Regions from separate parts of the Homo sapiens genome. Here region 1 is linked to region 2. The links are contacts of gene promoters, found by promoter capture Hi-C in human tissues and cell types (Jung and others, 2019). All regions are on one chromosome and are shown on one strand. Each heading gives the region's core, a stretch centred on a gene start or on the middle of the fragment in contact. The rest is flanking DNA. Distances are from core to core; before and after follow the strand shown. Region 1 overlaps KIAA0319L (KIAA0319 like). Region 2 holds the start of CLSPN (claspin).

Evidence for each region. Contacts are between HindIII fragments. The study calls those that stand out against the background at their distance.
Region 1: a contact is called between a fragment that was not itself captured here and the fragment with the promoter of CLSPN in region 2, in 2 of the 25 tissues and cell types used here (bladder and mesenchymal stem cells).

The regions. Positions count from the first base shown.
Region 1 is chr1:35,447,549-35,453,593 of GRCh38, forward strand. It overlaps KIAA0319L (KIAA0319 like), which reads right to left. Exons shown (of 21, transcript NM_024874.5): 12 at 6,009-6,045; 13 at 4,080-4,228; 14 at 2,810-2,961; 15 at 2,319-2,457; 16 at 625-784. Among named protein-coding and RNA genes, the nearest start is that of ZMYM4-AS1, 84 kb to the left of the region's middle. RefSeq lists a silencer at 3,552-3,731. The HindIII fragment of the contact is 6,659 bases long and covers 1-4,666 here.
Region 2 is chr1:35,768,690-35,775,090 of GRCh38, forward strand. CLSPN (claspin) reads right to left here and starts at 1,289. Exons shown (of 25, transcript NM_022111.4): 1 at 1,158-1,289. The coding sequence starts at 1,181. CLSPN-DT (CLSPN divergent transcript) reads left to right here and starts at 1,406. Exons shown (of 3, transcript NR_199050.1): 1 at 1,406-1,559; 2 at 4,109-4,321. RefSeq lists a silencer at 902-1,131. The HindIII fragment of the contact is 25,943 bases long and covers 1-6,401 here.

The sequences.
Region 1 (6,045 bases), core at 87-2,586, 320 kb before region 2:
AAGTTTCCTTTTCCCCTTTTTTTTTCTTTTTTTTTTTTTTCTTGAGACAGTCTCACTCTGTCTTCCAGGCTGGAGTGCAGTGGTGTGATCAGAGCTCACTGCAGCCTCAAACCCCTGGGCTCAAGTAATTCTCCTGCCTCAGCTTCCCAAATAGCTTGGACTACAGGCGAACCACACTGCACCTGGCTAATTTTTAAATCTTCTGTAGAGGTGGGGTCTTGTTATGTTGCCCAGGTTGAAGTTTTCTTTATTCTAGAAAAATCTTTGGATTACTCCTACCCCAACTCTCCTAGAAGAATTCATTGTCCTTGCCACAGTGTTCCACAATGCCGCTTGTTGTACCAAACCCACACCGTACTAATGTTCCATATTTACTTATCTCCTCTACTAGACTGTGGTTGTCAAAATAGTTGACCTCCTACACCCTGGAGCCCTGCTGAAGTGTCTAGTACAGCGCATGTCACCTGCACTAGAAGACAGAAGTCTATTGAAGAAAAGGCAACATGAGTGTTTCTGGTCAGAAAGCCCACCTTTCTCTATCTAACCACACTATTTCTCAGCTCATTCAAGAAGCCCGGGGGCCCCTGGTCTTTCCTTTGCTCCCCCCATTCATTGCCCAGCTACCTCTGCTCCGTGTACGGCTGAATCTTTTGCACAATGATGTCGGAATCCAGCACCCCCAGGAGGACCCCAATCTGGCGGATGAACATCCCCTTCAGCCTCTCAGTTAGCTGACTGACGTTGATATCCAAGATGATCTCCACCAGGTTGTTTTTCCTGGGATCTGGAAAGCATGTGGATCAGTCATGGCTTTAGAAGTAGGAGAGTAAACACAGACCTGCCACTGTGCATTTGCTTTGGCACAGGAGAGAAAGGAGTGAGAACATTCAGATATCCTTCAAATGGAAAGGGACAATAGTGAATTCCTGATCGGGCAATCTGGGGCTGGCTTAGAAAGCTTCTAAAGCACTCCTGCTCTCTATACCAACCTGAGAATTCCCACACATGTGCTGGGGATAAGGCTGAAGCAGTGATGCAATGAGGGGTGGGGAGTAATGACGGGAGTGGGGAAGAGAGAAACACTTAAACATTTGTTTTAAAAGCCTCTGTGCAACTGGCAGTGCTGAGCAATCCAGGCCAAGTGGGGGTTATTAAGCAATCTCTCCTGACTCACATCTGATTTTCAGTGCCTCGCTGTATTTTGTGCACAACAATGGGAGGAAAAGTGTCCATCTCAACAACCTCCTCAATAATGGGAATGCATCCGTCCCTCCAGGTTTAAATACAGTTAACAAAAGAAAATCCAGTCAGCCAAGACACAAGGATTTCCTTAGAGCCACATCACAGCTGCACTATCTTTGTATAACTCTAAAACGGTGAGGCTATCATGTTTTACTTTTGAATATGTCCTAAAGATGTTCTACATTTGGAATTTCAAACTGATTGTTTGGAATGCCTTATTTACATACTTGAATGCACCACTTGCCTGTTCTGATGTATAATTTGCATAATTAGTAGACTATCTGTGATCTGACTTTAAACACCAAAGAGATTTTATAGTGTCTCAGCTACTGTCCTTCCTAGAGGCAGGACAAGGACTGGAAGACCTCCCAAGATCCCTTCCTGTCCAAAACATCCATATATGAGGTTGGCCTAGATAATAAAGAGTAGGTTTAAAGTTAATACCATTTCATCAGAAGCTCAGGAATTTATACAGCTCTATCCCACCTCCATACTCAGTGCCTCCCTATCACCATATTAATCTCAAAGCAAAATAAAAACATGGTTCTATTTAAGAAGAAAATTTTTATTTCTGCAAAGCTGAAAAATGTAAAGAGCACTATTACTTTACCTTCCCTGGATTATCAGACAAGGCCTGAGGCTCAACTTATAAAAATAAATTGTTTTCTGCATCTGGATGCTGATGAGACATCATGACTCAAGCTATTCCCATGCTCAGATTCCCAAGCACTCTGAGCCCTCTCTCATCAGTCACGAGGAGAGGAGAAAGTGCTGGACTACGAGCACAAAGGCCTGGCTCTGACACAACTGCTGTGTGACACTGAGCAAGTCCTGCCCTCTCTGAGTTTGTTTCTCCATCTGAGATGAATAGGGGGAGGTCTGTATTTCTGCATGGGTAGGAGGTATTATTGGAACAGACGGTCTCTATGGATTTTTCAGCTTGGGGTTTCTCGATTATTTTTAAAGCTGGACATGCCATCTGGCTCTGTCCATGCTCGGGGAAGGGGATCTCAGGATAGAGGCCTTGATTGGCTGATTCAGCAATTCTACTCAGCCTCATCACTAAATGAACTCACCAGGTTTCACCTCCACAGTGGTCCGGTCTGTGTCACTCTCACCCTTTGCATCGGTCACTTTCAGGTGAAAAGTGTAGGTTCCCTCAACCAGGTTTGAAAGAAAAAGGATAGGGTGATGGTCAGAGTGATTTAACACCTCCTGTAGGGTTGAACAACATGGCTATGTTACAGAACAAAATGCCATTCCTTTCCTGGAGTCAGTTGCTGCTTTCACCATAACTAGGCCCTTCAGGGCTGAACTGTTTCAACCTTGGGCAGTTCCTGATACGGAACAGCATTGCAGCCTACAACTGCTAGGATCAGGGAAGGGAAACCCATTCTGTGCTATACTAGCTTACAGAATGACCCTAAGCAAGTCACTTCACCTCCCTGGATTTCAGAGAACAATCTGGGTTTGATATAAGGGACCACTTGATTAAAGCATATACTGGAACGCGTGGCTCCTCCTCCTCCCCACTCCTGTGTAGCTCTCCAGCTCCTAGCACACTTACCCCTGCTGCTGGGCTCCCCTCATCTCGAGTCCAGAGGTAGCTGACTATTCCCTTGTCATCTGAGGACTTAGAGCCATCCAGCTCTGCTGTGCTCGTGGGTAGGGTAATCACCACATTCCCAGTTATCTTGGCTATAGGTGGTTTGTTTATTTCTAATCAAAAAGAAATCATTGACATAATGTGACATTCTGGAAAAGAAGAAATGTTTCTTCATGATGCTTATGGGGAAATTAAAACATCAAGAGTACCTTAACTGGAGAACCTTTTTAAGTGCCTGTCCCTGCCACCAACCAACAGTGTAGATGAAAGCTACCAGCGCTGCAGTCCTGAGGTTCCAGTCCTACCCAGAGAAATGTTCTCCTAACACTGTACAACAGAGGGGACGAGTGTGCTTTCCTCTCATATTCTCCCAGCAGCCTTCCCAAATGGAATCCATTTCTCTGCTTTGGAGGTATGTGATGATCAGAAATAACGGCCCAAACTGGCTTAAAACCTTGGAGTTTAGGTTTCACCTAGCTGATCTTGCAAATTCTCCTTCAAAATATCTTAAAATGTTATTCTCTGAATATCTTTTTGGACCCCTTCCTTGGAACTTCACAAGAGAAAACAAAGAGCTACCTCTCTTATTCGGAGCCCCACGTGAAGCTCTGTATATTCAGATGTCTGTGCAGTATTTACTCAGCTTGGTATCTTATGTCTGGAGGTCTGCATATCTGATGGTTTTTCCTGCTATCAACTTAAGGCCCTCAACTTAAGGCCCTCTCCCACAGCTCTCACTGGTCACTGTGCCTGTAAACTAGAGCAAGGCCTCTGGCTGGCCTCAGCTCAAAGGCTCAGGGCAAGCATAGTCAGCTGTAGTGCGGCCGTCATTCTCAAGCCTGACAGCAGGTGTCACTGTAGCTAACAGGAGTCACGGCCCAGGTCTCAGCAATGCAGAGGGGCAAAATAAAAATGCAAAGAATAGAACCCTTAATTCTTTCCCTATTCAACTGAGAAATAAAGTAAGGAGGGAAGGAGGGAGGACTGAAAAGAAAGTAAGGGGATGAGAGGGAAGGGAAGATGTAAGCAGGAGGAGGGAGGGAAGTTAAAATTCACCTTACAGTCCAATTAAAGGCTGTTTTAGAAAAGAAAATAACAATTGCCCTCACCCCAACCCTCTTACCCACCTCTTGCTATCTCTAATCAATTTCTGCAGGCAAACATGACAGGATAAATTCTTCAGCTATCTGACCCTAAGAGGCTGCTACACAAACTGGAGGCAGAGAGGTACCTTCTTTGACAATGACATTCACAGAGCTCTGGCTTTGCAGGTTCCTCTCATCTTTGACAGTCAAGGTGAACACATAGGTCCCCACTTGCAGCCCAGTCACAGTAGCAACACTGCTGTTAGCATTCTCGAGCTGCACCCCATCAGGTCCCCTGCAAAAAAAGAAACTAGAGGGTAGAGTTGTACCTGTCTGCTGCTGTCCTGTCCCTAACTTAGCAGGAGGAGACAATGACTCCCTCAGCAAAGACACGAACTACTGTTACCCAGACCTTGACAAGACATGTTTAAAAATATTTCAATTGGACAAAGTGTCATTTGGCCTCAAAATACAGGCTGCCTGCTGGTCAGAAAATTCAAATAGCTTTCAAACACCTCTAGCCTTATCCTTTATATGAGCTTCTAGAACACTTGAACGCTTTACCATTCTAGTTTGTAAAAGGAAGAAAGTTCTCTGAGCAAGTCTCTGATCAAAAGAATGATTTAAGAGTGATGTTTCTAAAAAGCATTTCTGGCCCAGTAGTTGGTTTGGCTCTTGCCAGCAAGGAAGCAAAATGCATTTCTTAATCACGTGCCCAAATCCTTCCTGATGAAAGAAAAGGAAATGGGGCAAGACTGCAGAGGAACTCTCAGGACAAAATCATCTTGTTTGTAGCAACTCTATAAGCAAAGTTCCCTCCAGCTCCTGGACAGGGGCCATCAAGCACCTAGGACACCCTACAACCCTTCTTCCCCCTTGTGGCCTCAGAGACTTGCCTGCAGCAGCCAAGGGAGCTCTGTGCCAACATTCAGGCTGCACACAGCCAGAGAGCCCTCTGCTCAAGGATCAAAATGCCCCAGAGCTTTTAACTACAGGAAAGCCAGAGAAATCTGCAGACATCCAGGATTTACTTTGTTTTGCCTTTTAAAGTTACAGCCTCTGATCCTGGTAGCTCCTCCTGAAGCACAGTCTCCTTCAAGAAGCTATGCTAAGCATTATCTCTGCTGTAAACACTAATAAAACTCAGCTAAAAGGTCTATCAGCCATATCTTCAATAAACAATTATAATTAAAAACACCCTGGGCTGGGTAAGATTATGTTCTACAAAAGATAAAAACAAGAGCTGAGGGAAATAATTTCTAGATTCCAACTCAGCAATCTCAAAAGCAAGTCATTTGTATAGTCAAATTAAAGTTCTTTTCCACCCATCTCCAATGCCTTTGTCAAACAAACAAACAAACAAACAAACAAACAAACACAATACAAAAAAAAACCCAGGCTGTCCTATGGTTGCTACCTTTGGAAACAGAGAATACTTTTAACTCTTCTTAGAATTCTTTTGCTACTTGTGGGATCCTGCATATAATTTCAGTTGCATTAGTTATGCTTTAAAGGAGCTAAAAGAAACTACAGGAACTAAGAATGGTTCAGTTAGGTAATTTCTATGTAATTAGAATTATTTTGATTACCGCCTTTGGCCTCTGGCTAACTTAATTGGTAAATGGTGTCTTCAAGAAAACAATAACAGAGTAATGCTTTCATTTTATGGATGTATTTTCAATTTCTCTTAATAGCTGCTCTGCCCCATCCCCCGTGCCAGCCTTACCCAGTTAATTCTGAGCAACAGTATTTTTCTGCTCCATTACCCCTTCCATCCTGCCTCTCAAGTGTAATTAAACTCTGCATTTCAGCAGATGGATTGTACCTGAAAAAGCACCAGGATCACACAGTACTACCTGGGGACTAGTTGATGGCAAGCATTCTTTTTTTCTTACAAAAATTATGATTATAATATCATTTTCTTGGAGTTGAAGTTTGGAATTGCAAACATTTCTTCCTCAGTCACCCCACTGGATAAGCCAATAAGAGCAACTCAACTCATAATAGCAAATAAAACCTTGCTCTTCCAAGGTCTGGAGGCTTTGCAAAAATAAGGATTTTGTGTCAATACTCACTGTGTTTTTTCCCAGAGATATGAGATAATTTTCTGAT
Region 2 (6,401 bases), core at 39-2,538:
GCTGAGAATTAATATGTATGCACTGATGATCCTCTCAACAATCCAAAGCAGTAAAACTATTACTTCTGTTTGTGAGTGTGGAAACCGAATTTAGGTAACCAGACAGCTCAAGGAATAGGGCTGCTTTGAATGACGATTATCTTCTAGGCAATTTGCAGCAACGTCAAAGGGCAGGGCCAGTAACAGGGTGGGGTGAGGTCTCAAAAAATTCAGTAATCAAAATGAATAACATTAATGCAATATTTTTTAAAAAATTAAATCAATAATCTACAGCTCATGAGGTAAATAATATGCCCGCTTTTGTAAATAAAGTTTATTGGAAACAGGGATGGAATTAGGGTGAGGTGATTGAGGCAAGGTCGTGCAAATGACTGGTCGGATCTCGTCTTTGTTTAAACGTCTGATATTTTGTTCAATATCAAATCATAAAAAGTTTTTGCATTAATTTTGGTTTTTTAAAAATATTGCATTAAAATATGAGTTTGATTGAGGGTTTTGGCGCCCCTTTAAATTTTGCTCCTAAGGCGGGAGTGCCTTGCCCGAATCCGGCCCAGAAAGGACACAGCTCTGGAAACATCTGTTTTCTATGCCCAATTTCGCCAGGGAGCTGCCAGCCACCAGCCAGGAGCCCCAGCGGTGACTTCCCCACTCGGGGCCCGGTCGGAAAACGCAAAGGGCCTGCGCGCGATGACCTCCAGGGCCCCTCCCAGGCCCAGTGTGGAACTCCCTAACACCCTCGCTCGCCCTCTCTCTGCGGAGAATCCCCCCGCACCGCTGCGGCCGGGTTCGGCTAGAGCCTCCCGGCTTTCAGAGCACCCTGAGGGGAGGAGCTTCCGCGACAGGAAACGCGCCAAAGGGGAGGGCTGGCGGCAGGAACCGGCTGAAGAGGGGCTGGGCTGCCGGCAGTGCGCGCCGCAGAGACCTGGAGCTCTCCGGCCACGGAGCCCGAAGCGCGGGAAGCCCGGCGGCGGGACGGGATGCCCGGTCGGAACCCATCCCGGCCGAGTCTCGAGGCCGCGGGAGCCGGCGCGGCGAACGCCGGGAGCCGCAGTCCTCCCGCCCGGGCGCCTCGGGTCAGCGGGGTCTACCCCGGCCCCACCTAACCTCTCGGTGCCCGGCCTTCTAAGCCCCCGTGGGGGGCGTGTGCATAAACTCACCTCAGAACCCACCTCGCCTGTCATGACTTCTGCCTCCCCTGCGCTCCACTAGGGACGGAGCTGTCTCTGATTCCCTCAGCCGGAGAGCAGCGGCTCCCGCCGTCTCCAGCCCAGCAGTGCTGTTCTTGCTTTCCCGCCCAGCCAGAGTGGAGGTCCCACCCAGATGGTTTGCACCAATCCAGAGGGGGCTTTCCAGCGAGTCCCCGCCCCCTTCCGACCCACCAATCACGCAGCGCCTCTGGCCGCCCAATCTCCTATTACCCAGGCTGAGTTGGCGGGTCGCAGCTGCTGGTAGCGGAGCCTGGGGGAGCTGGAGGTGCACGGGGGCGGGGCAGTCGGTACCAGGCGAGCCGTGGTCTTTGACCTTTGACACTTGCCAAAGCATCGAGTGCGATTGGAGGGGTGAGTCTTTCGGGGGGAAGTGAGCTGGGAAACGGTTCCTGGGCACCTGGGAGTGTCCTGTACCTGAACTTTTTAGAGGAATTCCAAGGTTCCCGTGGGGATTTTCTCCACTGACTTCATTTCTGGAGCAGCTAGATCCTGTGTGCCTCTTGTACATGACACTTACCACTGAATATATATATATATATATATATATATATATATATATATATATACACACACACACACATATGTACACACATATATACATACACATATATACACATACACATGTATGTGTATACACACACACTTTTTTTTTTTTTGAGATGGAGTCTCCCTCTGTTAGCCAGGATGAAATGCAGTGGCGCGATCTCGGCTCACTGCAACCTCCGCCTCCCGGGTTCAAGCGATTCTCGTGCCTCAGCCTCCTGAGTAGCTAGGATTACAGGCACCCGCCACCAACCCCTGGCTAATTTTTGTATTTTTAGTAGAGACGGGGTTTCACCATGTTGGCCAGGCTGGTCTCGAACTCCTGATCTCAAATGATCCTCGCCTCGGCCTCCCAAAGTGCTGGGAGGCCTCATACCCCTCACAGGCGTGAGCCACTGTGCCCGGCCCACTTTTATTTTTTAAAGAGGGCCGGGCTCCATGGCTCACGCTTGTAATCTCAACGCTTTGGGAGGCCGAGGTGGGAGGATGGCTTGAGTCCAGGAGTTTGAGGTTAGAGTGAGTTATGATCGCACCACTGCACTTCAGCGTAGGCGATAGAGGGAGACCTTGTCTCTAAAGAAAAAAGTTTTGTGGGCTGCTCAGATACCAAAGAATATGGTTGGATAATCTTTATAATTCTCTGTAGAGTTAATTTGAGGATGTAGAAAGCACTCATCACTCCTAGAGGGCATTCTACCTTTAAACAAGGCTGGAAAAAGAATTGAAGCTCTGAAATCAGGTTTATCCCAGACACAGTTCTTTTTTTTTTTTTTTTTTTTTTGTTGAGACAGAGTCTCTCCCTGTCACCATGGCTGGGTGCAATGGCGTGATCTCGGCTCACTGCAACCTCCGCCTCCCGGGTTCAAGCGATTCTCCTGCCTCAGCCTCCTGAGTAGCTAGGATTATAGGCATGTGCCACCACGCTCAGATAATTTTTTGTAACTTTAGTAGAGACAAGATTTCACCATTTTGGCCAGGCTGATCTTGAACTCCTGACCTCGTGATCCGCCCGTCTCAGCCTCCCAAAGTGCTGGGATTACAGGTGTGAGTCACCGCACCTGGCCTATCCCAGACAATTCTAATCCCAGTTTTGCCACTGTGCTGGCCATTATTTTTTGCCTCTCCAGGTCAATTCTCTGTCCTTCCTTTACCCTGGTGTGTGTCAAGGCAAGGCTGACCTCTCTAGACTGTATTATCCCAGCTCCCTTGCCCTTCTGGTTGGGTCAGGCCCCTGTAAAGACACCTTATAAGGTTACTGTAAGGAGATGAGAGGCCACCAGGAAAGAAAGGTCAGAGTATTTATTGCTCACTTCACCCTCCATGGTCATATCCACTGCCAGTGTGGCCAGCTTGGCCCAGCTTGCCCAGGACTTTCCTAGTTTTAGCACTAAAAGTCCTGCATCCTGAGAACCTCCTCAGTCACAGGTATACCAAATGGTTGGTTCTTCACCCAATCCACTGGCCTCCTCTTCCAAGTTTCCACCTTTAGCTGGGTTCAGAAAAAAGCTCCCTCTCCACATCTTCATTTCTTTACTTCCCCACCATCTCTCAATCCACTTCTGTCCCCACCAACAAGAGCCCATCATCCATCCTCTTCTCTTTTTGTGTCTTGGTTTATCCACCTTTTCATCCATTTACTATTAATTTCTACATCAACGATTCCCAGGTATACATCTATGGCACTCCCCATCATATATGGAGGGCTAACGTTTATTGAAGCCTTACTCAGTGGCAGAAACAGTTGCAAGGATTTTATAAGTGTTATCTTATTTAATCTTCAGAGTAAACTTGTAATATTATTATCTCTTTCTTAGAAGATGAGGAAACCAGACTTTTAAAAGGCTAGAAACTGGTGGAGCCAATTTTCAGACTCTATGTGACTTCAGAGCTCATACCCCTCAGAAAGACCCTGCCTGAGCATCCTCTGTGTTCTGCCTCCTTATCCTATGCTGGTTTCCCTGATAACACTTTCCTTTGCCTGAAATTTTATTTATATCTATTTGTCTGTTGTTGCTCCAAGAGAACAGGCGTTTTGTTTTCTTGGCCTCTGTATCATTGCAACCTAGAATTGTCTTTCTTAAACTTGAGCATGCATCAGAATAATCTGAAAGGCTGGTAAAAACAGCTATTGTTGGGTCCTAGTGCCAAAGTTTCTGATTCAGTATGTCTGAAGTGGGGTCCAGAGATGTATACTTCTTTCTTTCCTTTTTTTCTTTTTCTCCCTGAGTGCAGTGGCATGATCACAGCTCACTGCAGCCTCAACCTCCCAGGCTCAAGCAACCCTTCCACCTCAGCCTCCCAAGTGGCTGGGACTACAGGTGTGCACCACCATGCCCAGCTAATTTTTTATTTTGTAGAGACGGGGTGTCACCATGTTGCCCAAGCTGGTCTCAAACTCCTGGACTCAAGCAACCTGCACATCTCGGCCTCGCAAAGTGCTGGGATTACGGGCATGAACCACCGTGCCCCACAGGAATGTATATTACTAACAAATTCCCTGGTGATGCTAGTGTTGCTGATCTGGAGACCACACTTTGAGAACAAAGGACTTAGAACATCCCAGGTTCAAGGTAGGAAAACTGATAAATATTTGTTGAACTAATTAATTCATTCACTTGACAACTTCTTGAGCTCCCTCTGAAAATGAATGAGTGAAATAATATTCCTTATATTAGTATTTTAAAATATCTTTGGGGAGCACCTTTTCACTCATCACAGAAGCTAAGAGAGAAAGCTCCAATTTGAACAATGGGTGGACATGGGTAAGCTAGGAAAGGAAAACCTTTCATTCAATTTTTATTGTGGTAAAACATATATAACATGAAATTTACCATCTTAACCATTTTAAAGTATGCAGTTCAGAAGTACATTCAAATTGTTATGTAACCAATCTACCAATCTTCAGAATTCTTTTCTTTTTCTCTTCTTTTTTTTTTTTGAAATGGAGTTTTGCTCTTGTTGCCTAGGCTGGAATGCAATGGTGCTATCTTGGCTCACTGCAACCTCTGCCTCCCGGGTTCAAGCAATTCTCCTGCCTCAGCCTCCCAAGTAGCTGGGATTACAGGCACCTGCCACCACGCCTGGCTACTTTTTTGTATGTATTCTTAGGAGAGACGGGGTTTCACCATGTTGGCCAGGCTAGTCTTGAACTCCTGACCTCAAGTGACCCATGCACCTCGGCCTCCCAAAGCGCTGGGATTACAGGTGTGACCCAACGGGCCTGGCCTAGAACTCCTTTCATCTTGCAAAACTGAAACTCTATGCCCATTAAGCAACAACTTCATACTCCTCCCATCCCCAGGAAACTTTTATTTTACACATTAACTTGTGCCAAGATAAAGTGAGTCTGTATTTAGAATTAGCAACCTGTATTCTCAATTTTGGTGAGTGGAACCATATCCACTCACCAGTTTAGAAACCTGTGAATCACCTTGACCTCTCTGTCCCTTCATTGTTGTAGTCATCCAACAATCCTTGTTTATCAAGTTGATAAATGGCAACAAAGGAAACATCTGGAGTGCTCACTTTACAGGGATTAGTCTGAACCTGTCCCATAGAGGGCTTCATAAACTTAGGTAACTAATTTAGTTTCTCAGAAATGTGTTCTTTTTTGGAGGTTGGGTGCAGTGGGTCATGCCTGTAATCCCAGAATTTTGGGAGGCTGAGGCAGTCAGATCACTTGAGGCCAGGAGTTTGAGACCAGCCTGGCCAACATGGTGAAACCCTGACTCTACTAAAAACACAAAAATTAGCCGGGCGTGGTGGCGGGCACCTGTAGTCCCAGCTACTTGGGAGGCTGAGGCAGGAGAATTGCTTGAACCTGGGAGGCGGAGATTGTGGTGAGCTGAGATCGTGCACCACTGCACTCCAGCCTGGGTGACAGAGCAAGACTCCATTTCAAAAAAAGAAAAGAAACTTGTTCTTTTTTGTAACTAGAAAACACTGGATGAGATCATGATTCTCAAATAGGTTTAATGAGTAGGGCACCCGAAAGTATAGCACTTCATAGGAAGCATTTTGCAGTACTGATGCTGTTAATCTGGTCATTTGAATGCGGAAACATTTTAACTAGTAGGATATATTATTATATCACAAAAAAATATTTAAAAAGCAATTCTGACATTACAAGTCTGGGAAAAAATCAGCCATGGAACTTAACATGCTCAGCCAGTTCTAAAAGTGCTCTATTTATATTGTGCTCCTTGGCAGACAAAAGCAGAAACCAAAGGCTTAAGAAAGTTTGGAGGAAGATAATTGACTGAATTATGTCTTTTATTTCTTTTTCTGCAAATTGAGGAAGATTACCATGTTACATTTTTAGTACTGCTATTCCTCTGGAGTAAAGTTTAAAACTACCTGCTTTTCCAAAGTCCTGGGCCGCTAAATTACCTTCGTCCCTGGGGAAACACTGCCACTGTGTGGCAGACCTTGGTTATGCCACTCTATCCTAAAACCATTTGAGACGTGGGGGTCATTTTAAGATTATTCAAGTTATTTAATTTTTCCTTTGGTGGGGTAAAATAACTGCATCTCCCAGTATCTTATTTTAAAAATAATTTCGGCCAGGTGAGGTGGCTCACGCCTGTAATCCCAGCACTTTAGGAGGCCGAGGCTGGTGGATTGCCTAAGCTCAGGAGTTCACAACCAGCC